Linked DNA regions of Homo sapiens: all the other regions are linked to region 3. Evidence: promoter capture Hi-C in 16 types of primary human blood cells and fetal thymus (Javierre and others, 2016). All regions are on one chromosome and are shown on one strand. The core of a region is centred on a gene start or on the middle of the fragment in contact, and the rest is flanking DNA. Distances in the headings are between cores, read along the strand shown.

Region 1 (2,700 bases), core at 177-2,676, 270 kb after region 3:
CATATTTGGCTTACATTCCAAACTGAGATGGCAAATTCTATGGATTCCGTTGCATGCTTTACCATACCAAACATGGCGGCTCTTCTCCCTGATCTTCCCTGTTTATTATTCCCCGGAGTTATTACAAAGAGCAGGTTGAAATACCCTTATAATTCCCTGGGCTAATAAAGAAGCACCAGTACTAAAGTATTTCCATTGGCCGCATGATCTCCCTGGAGAAACATAGCACTTCTAGTCTTGCTCCAATGCCACTTTATGTTCCCATTCTACATTTCCTTTCTTGAATGGAAGAGAAGAATGAATGTTAAACAAGAAGGGGGTCAGAGAGAGGAAGAGTTGCATACAAATACAAGGACAGGGATGAAAGGAAAGGGAGGAGACAGGGAATATACCTCCTGAAGAGACACTGAGCCATGTTGCTATGGCATAAACCTCCAGTTAGGTAAACATATTAAAGTGCACTTATATCCATAATTTCTTTCTTAAAAGGGGGAAGCAAAAGATGTTTGGAGAAGGAGAATAGTCAAGAAGATGAAAATAATGACTAATGTTGTTCTTGTTACCTGTTTGCCAGTCTCACTCAAATGAGGATGACTATTTAGAGTAATATTGAATTATAGAAAGCTTTATGTGATTATAAGCCCGAGAAAGAAGCACCCAAACGTACATGTAAAAGGTGGGCTAATGAGAGGCAAAGGGAAGGAAAGATGAAGGAGAGAAGGAAAATAAGGAAATGCCAGTTATTAGTTTAGAATACCCGAATACCACTCTTCTTCTTCTAAAATATTTAATTGTGAAAATAACTTTATTCTTATCTTAGAAATTTGAAAACAATACATTTTGCATTATGTTATAAATCAGAAATGGGAACACTTTATTATTGTTTATCAATTTTGTAGAGGAGAAAAAATTGGGATCATAGCAATAAAAAAATGCTTGCTTTATTTGCTTTTGAAGATAATAAAACATTAATTTATACACTTAAAAATTAATCATTAGGACATTAAACACTATGAAATGAAAATACCAGATTTAACTTATTCTATCTTTAAATTAATTACAGACAACCACAGTTGCTAACAGTATGAGTTCTGCAGTTATACAGAACTAAGTCCATTAGCTGTGTGACCCATGGCCAAATATTTTCCTTCTCTGTGCCTGCATTTCTTCATCTGCAAACTGGAATAATGATAGCAACTACTTCAGAGGACTATGTGAGTATTAAATGAAGTAATCCTTGTGATGAGTTTCTCAGAATGCCTTGCATATGATAAATTCTTAACATGTGTTGGCTTCATCATTATTTTGTTATTTTATTATATATATATTTTTAAATTTTAACAGCTTTATTGAGGTATAATTGATATACAAAGAACTGCACATATTCAGGGTGTATAATTTGATGAATTTGGATGTATGCAAATACCCACACAACCATCACCACTCAAGGTAATAGATGTATGCAACTTCTCCAAGTTTTTTTGTGTCCCTTTGTTTTTGTTTTCTTTCATTTTCCTGGGAAGAACACCTAACAGGAAATCTACCTTCTTAACATATGATCCAGCAATACCACCTCTGGGTATATATTCAAAGGGATTGAAATCAGGATCTCAAAGAGACATCTTCATTCCCATGTTCATTGTAAAATTAGTCACAATAGCCAAGATATGAAAACAACCTGTTTCCATTGACAGATAAATGCATAAAGAAAATGTAGTATACAATGGAATTATTCATCCTTAAAAAAAAGAAAATCCTGCCATTTGAGACAACATGGATGAACCTGAAGGACATTATGCTAAGAGAAAGAAGCCATTCAAGAAGGGTAAATAGTTTATTATTACACTTATGTGAGGTATCTATAATAGTCAAACTCATAGAAGCAGAGAATATAACAGTGGTTGTCAGGGGCAAGTTAAGAGAGGTGAGGAGTTGTTCAATGGTTATAAAGTTTCAATTATGCTACATGAATGAATTCTAGAGATCTACTATACAGCTAAGTGCCTATGGTTAAAAATACTGTATTGTGCTTATCATTATTATTTTGAAGAAAATATTAAAAAGTATATTATGGTCACTTTAAGGTCAACAACAGATAAGCCACCAAAGTAAAGTATCATTTTTAAAAAACCTCAAGAAATAATCGAAGCTATTTCAGCAAGACTTTAAAAATTCATTTCTAACTATGGAAATCTCATGGGATTCAGAGGACTATAATGAAATCCTAATAAAGCTTGTTGTTCTCCATAATTAACCAAATAAAATCAAATCCTTCCTGAAATTTGGTAGCTAGAAAATTATTCTAAGCTTAACTCTATGCTAGGCAGGCCAAGTTATCTCAGAAGTGGTTTTGTAGGCTACAAATTTAATAACCGATATATTCAATAATTTATAAGGCAATGGGCCAAATCTTTGGCAGTGATTTTCTTATTTTCCCACAGCTGAAGTTTCTGGAGAATTGCTCTCATATTAGAAAAAAAATACAGTAAGTGGAACTGCTTATGAAGAATATATTGTTTTTGTCTTTAAACCACTTTATTCAGGTATGATTGACATGTTTAAAAACTGTACCTATTTTATATACAATCTCACAGTGACTTTGGAGATAAGTATAAACCCATGAAATCATCACCACTACCAAGGCCATAGTACACCTGTCATCTCCCAAAGTTTCCTCCCAGCTCCTTTATTATCATTATT
Region 2 (2,700 bases), core at 108-2,607, 270 kb before region 3:
ATCTAGAACTGTCTTAGCCAGAGGAAAAGTCAAGGCCTGGTCTCAAAGCTTCAAAGGACGAGCTTTTTTTTTAGAAGCTTATGTAGCTGGTGACTTTAAACTGAAGCCAATGTTCATTTACCATTTTAAAAATCCTAGGCCTCTTAAGAATTATACTAAATCTAATCTACCCTGCCTATGCTCTATAAATAGAATAATAAAGCCTAGATGGCAACGCATCTGTTTACCACACAGTTTTCCAAATATTTTAAGCCCACTGTTGACCTACTGATCAGAAGAAAAGGATTACTTTCAAAAGATACTGCTCATTGACAATGTGCGAGTAATCCAAGGGCTCTGATAGAGATGTACACAGAGAGTAATGTTTTTATGCTAACACAACATTCATTCTGCGGCTTATGAATCAAGGAGTAATTTCTACTTTCAAGTCTTATTATTTAAGAAATACATTTTATAACACTACAGCTGCCATAGATAGTGATTTCTCTGATTGATCTAGGCAAAATAAATTTGAAAACTTCTGAAAAAGACTCACCATTCTAGATGTCATTACGGACATTTGTGATTCATGAGAAGAGTTTAAAACATCAACATTAAATAGATTTTGGAAGTTGATTTCAACCCTCATGATGACTGAGGCATTTAAGACTGCAGTGAAGAAGGTAGCTGCAGATGTGGTAGAAATAGCAAGAGAACTAGAATCCAAAGTGGAGCCCGAAGATGTAACTGAATTGCTGCAATGTTACGATCAAACTTGAATGGATGAAGAGTTTCTTGTTACACATGAGCAAAGAAAGTGGTTTGTTAAGACAGAATTTACTCCTGATCAAGATGCTACGAACATTGTCAAAACAAGAACAAATAATTTAAGTATATTCCACACACTTAGTTGATAAAGCAGCAGCAGAGTTTGAGAGGATTGCCTCCAATTTTGAAGAACATTCTACTCTGGGTAAAATGTTATTAAATAGCATTGCATGCTATACAGCAATAATTTGTGAAACAAAGAGTCAATCAATGTGGCAAACTTTATTGTTGGTGTATTTTAAGAAATCACCACAGTCAACACCCTGATCAGTCAGTAGCCATCAACACTAAGGCAAGATCTTCCACCAGCAAGAAGATTACTACTCAGTGAGTTTTGTGTATTTTAGCAATATTTTAATTAAGGTGTACATTGTTTTTTTAGATGTAATGCTATTGTGAACTTAATAGACAACAGTATAGTATAAATATAATTTTTTTTTGAGATGGAGTCTCACTCTGTCGCCACGCTGGAGTGCAGTGGCGTGATCTTTGACTCACTGCAAACTCTGCCTCTGGGTTCAAGCGATTCTCCTGCCTCAGCCTCCCAAGTAGCTAGGATTACAGGCGCACCACCACACCCAGCTAATTTTTGTATTTTTACTAGAGACGGGGTTTCACCATGTTGGTCAGGATTGTCTGCATCTCTTGACCTCGTGATCCGCCCATAGGCCTCCCAAAGTGCTGGGATTACAGGCATGAGCCACCTTGCCCCTCCAGATATATCTTTTATGGGCACTGGGAAACCAAAAAAAAAAAAAAAAAATTGTGTGACTTGTTTTATTGTGGTATTTGTTTATTGCCATGGTCTGGAACCAAACCCACAGTATCTCTAAGGTACACCTTTATCTACTATGTGCCGGGGAAAATAAACATAATAACATGCCTACCTTAAACACAGACTTTTTTCTAGTATTACTTTTTTAAACTTTAAGCTATTTGATATGTGTGTAAGGGGATAAGCAGACAATGATGCAATCCAAGATATATCTTCCCACATTTGAACAAGGTTAGACTTCAAATTACTCAATAGTATTGTACTATGATCTTAGTGGATACTGAAAGATCTTCCTGTCTCAAAGTATCTCTGTTACATGAAGCCTAGAGGTGCTTCACACTTGAGTCAAGATACTCTTTATTTGTTTGAATCATTAAGTCAGACATTTCTTGTTAACAATGAGTACAGTTTTTCACCAGAAATCTACCTATCACGTAGCTCAGAGAAAAACTCTCAGAGAAAGGAAACCCGAATAGGCAAAATGTCAAGGTTCCACCTCCCACACATAGGCTACTGAGAGGTTTGTAAGACTCACAGAGGCACCTAGGGACACTGGGCATTTAGTAAATAGATCATGAAAGAATCCTAGAAAATAAGACTACCCCTAGGCAAGGAGAAACTAAGTAGGTTAAGTTTGTCTTTTATACTCTTCCCCCCTTTTCTATAGCACTGCTGTTTCCATCCAGGGTCTTTTTTGTATCCTCAATAGATTTACACACACACGCTCATGCCTTCACATGCCCAGACACACACACACATACACATATAACAGAGAGACTCCAGTTTGCGCCAATGAAATTCAACTCATACCAACTCAGAAAAACACATAATGCCCTATATTTTACACACTTTGAAAATACTTGCATTTTTATAGAAATACTTGCATTTTATCAACTCAAAACCCTTTCTAACGAAGGAAATCTTTTTCTAATACTGAAAGTTGGCAGTTGGCAAAGAAAATTTGGGTTCCACAGAAACAGGCCTAGCCTCTTCCCACCACCATCTTTCATACACTTGGGGGAAAATGTATCACCACATAGGCTGCAAAGTCAAAATCAAGCTTTACCAACATTACAATTTCACATAGAGCTCCTTGACTTGTACTAGACATTCAACAT
Region 3 (2,700 bases), core at 75-2,574:
ACCCAGTCTAGAGTAGCTTATTGCCTGCAAGGCTATGGGTTGGCCAAGGAGGCCCAGGATCTCAGAGAAGCAGAAGAGCCAGGGGAACCAGGGAAGGGCGGAGGGAGTCATTGAGGCATGGTTGAAGTGGTCTTTACATGGCTCCACACAACAGATGGACTCTACCACATTCAAATGCACTTGGAGCACCTTCTCAGTAAGAGATGATGCCCCCTCAAGTGTTTGCTTGTTTAAACATACCTTCATGTGAGTGGAGAGTAGGAGGAATCCTGCTTCCTGAAGGTAACTGATTTCATAGTAGATGAAGTTAGATATGAAGTTAAACTCTTCAATTAAACAGATTAACAATAACATTAATCCGAGGTTTGTTATGGACAACACATTAATACTGGTAACTTGCCAGTAGATACGCTATAGTCAGCAAACAGTACAGCTTGTTTACGATTGCTAAATCAAATTTTCAAAGAAATGTAGTTCTGGTAATTGTAAGCAAAACCGTTAAAATGGTCTGAGTTAGTTTTGAAGTTACTTTCATCTTCAGGAGGTTTTGAACTCTGTTAGAGACGGGCGGGCCTCATTCTGTCAGGTTGTAGGTTAATTCCCCAACTCAAACTTCCCCGATCAAACATTGTCAGGCCAGGCGACTGTTTTGGTTTATGGATGATAAAGTATAGGGCCAAGGTAGGCCAAGAGTAGAAGACAGAGGGAGGGCTGGGTTTCACTTCTAATTTTTGGCCCAAGCTTTCATGGTGAGGAAACTGTTTTCAAGGGCTTAGAGCAATCGCAGTTCCACAATCGCAGATAGAAAGTATGATTTCTCTGGAAAAAAAGTGTCTTAACCTATGAAGCTGTGTGTGAAGATCAAGTGTAGGGGATACGCTGAGGTCAAGTCATGCGACCAAAGACCGGAAAACGGAGATTGCTGCATGCAAGCGTGCTGGGCGTTTGTTTGGTTTGCTTGCCTGCTTAAAGTATCCACTGGGAGGGATGGCGGCTAGAAGTCAGAGGCATTGACTGATTGAGGAACTGGTGAAGCGGAGCCCATGAGGTGCTGAGGTACTCTAAATAGGAGGATAAGGTATGAGGCAAAACAAGGCTGGAGTCAAACAAAGGCGCCGTTGCATCGCAGATTGCAACCTGAAGCGGCTCCCGGCTCCCTGGAGAGTAACCCGGAGAGACGGACAGGGGTGGCAGCCAGGAGGAGACCGCAGGAACCTCGCCTCCGCCGCGGCCCCGCCCCCACGGATCCCCGCCCCCGCAGTTGCGGAACCAATGGGAGCTCGGAATGTTAGCGGGTGGGAGGTGCGGCTGGGTTGCTACAGCCAGAGCTGGGCGGTGGCGGGCGCTGCTGAAGGAGTCTCGCTGAGCTCGAGGAGGTGGCGCGATGGAGGGACTGGAAGGTGAGGCGATGAAGGGATGAGGGCAGGACGGCTAGAGCGGGCCCGAAACAGCTGGGGACCCTGGACACCAGTAGCAGGAAGGCGAGGGCTGGTTCGGTGCGGCGGACCTCGCCGCGTCCCGCCGCGCCTCCGGAGGCTGGGGCCGAAGGGAACCGGACAGTCCCCGATGCGGTGGAGCTAACGCTACCAGGCTGCCCCGCCTCAGACGGTCTTCAACTGGGCTTTCCCGCCCGGAGCCAGATCCTGCCCCTGGCAAGACGCCTGCACGTCTCTTCCTACCATTTTCTGATCTTGCTTGACTCCTGAGTGCCCTTTTAGTGATCCCAGTCTCTGGCCAGATTTTGTTTTCCTTGTACTGGACTCTCTCCATTATTGTCCACGGCCTTAACACCAACAGGCCACTTTGTGCTGCAGCCCCGGGGTGTGTCTCCAGCCTCGAGCTCCTGACATTCCTTGGCCGATTTCCCTAGGTAACCGGCTTTTTACATTTCGACAGCATCTTCTGTCGGAGGGATGTCAGAGCATCTCCTAAGGAAGTGTCACTGGCCAGCTTTAGAGCCGGTACAATAGATTACCCGGAGGATTTGATGACTTATTCACGGCCGCTGTGTGAGGAAGAGCCTGTATTGGTTCCTTATCTTTGGGTTTATCTTTGTACTGTAACCATGACTCCAGATTTTGCTTTGTTCCCAGTTCTTTCACTTTTTCTCTATTCTGTTTACCCATTTTATCCTGTGTAATGAAAGCATTCACCTAAAAACAAAGGAAGGACAAAAACCACAATAACTAGCATTGGCAACAACAGTTTCAAGATTTTTTAATTTGTTATGATGAAGAACAAACCTTCAGAATTGAAAGATCCTATTGTCTTGATTTAGCTCCTTTCCCCCGTCTCCTAGTTTACACGGATTCAGTTGGAATTAAGAATGAGCAGAAGCTTTTGAGTCTTGTGTATTGTTGCATGCCAGGGAGTAAAATATTCTACATTGTGTGATGAAGTGCAAAGTGGTAGCCGGTAACTTTTTCAGTCACCTATTCACCAAAAAGCAGATGTAATAACATGAGTAGAAGTTTATTTCGTGCTTTTGCTCTGATAAATGATTCTGATAATTTTCCGTTTGTGGACAGCTGCAGTATGCTATGGCCTAATGAAGGTCTTGTTTTTTGCTTATGTGTTTTTGGAAGATAATTCAAGTTTCCATGAAATAAGGAATTGTAATGATAGTACAGTATATTTTACTTTCAAGATACTTTTGTATCTTGGTGGGATTAAAGCATGGGTTATGGAATTCTCATGAGA

What was found. Contacts are between HindIII fragments. The CHiCAGO score rates a contact against its expected background, and 5 or more counts as called.
Region 1: a contact is called between a fragment that was not itself captured here and the fragment with the promoter of ZC2HC1A in region 3, in 1 of 17 cell types (total B cells). The highest score is 6.8, in total B cells.
Region 2: a contact is called between a fragment that was not itself captured here and the fragment with the promoter of ZC2HC1A in region 3, in 7 of 17 cell types (naive CD4 T cells, activated CD4 T cells, non-activated CD4 T cells and 4 more). The highest score is 12.7, in naive CD4 T cells.

Annotation. Positions count from the first base shown.
Region 1 is chr8:78,932,680-78,935,379 of GRCh38, forward strand. It overlaps MITA1 (metabolism induced tumor activator 1), which reads left to right. Exons shown (of 3, transcript XR_002956715.2): 2 at 1,064-1,214. All of the region lies in intron 2 of LOC105375912 (a long non-coding RNA gene), which reads right to left. Among named protein-coding and RNA genes, the nearest start is that of LINC02605, 97 kb to the left of the region's middle. The HindIII fragment of the contact is 1,609 bases long and covers 623-2,231 here.
Region 2 is chr8:78,390,412-78,393,111 of GRCh38, forward strand. No RefSeq gene overlaps it. Among named protein-coding and RNA genes, the nearest start is that of PKIA, 120 kb to the right of the region's middle. The HindIII fragment of the contact is 2,565 bases long and covers 76-2,640 here.
Region 3 is chr8:78,664,765-78,667,464 of GRCh38, forward strand. ZC2HC1A (zinc finger C2HC-type containing 1A) reads left to right here and starts at 1,325. Exons shown (of 9, transcript NM_016010.3): 1 at 1,325-1,400. The coding sequence starts at 1,385. It overlaps LOC105375911 (a long non-coding RNA gene), which reads right to left and starts at 1,215. Exons shown (of 4, transcript XR_007060972.1): 1 at 241-1,215. RefSeq lists enhancers at 448-956, 957-1,464, 1,429-1,478 and a silencer at 1,139-1,358. The HindIII fragment of the contact is 1,596 bases long and covers 740-2,335 here.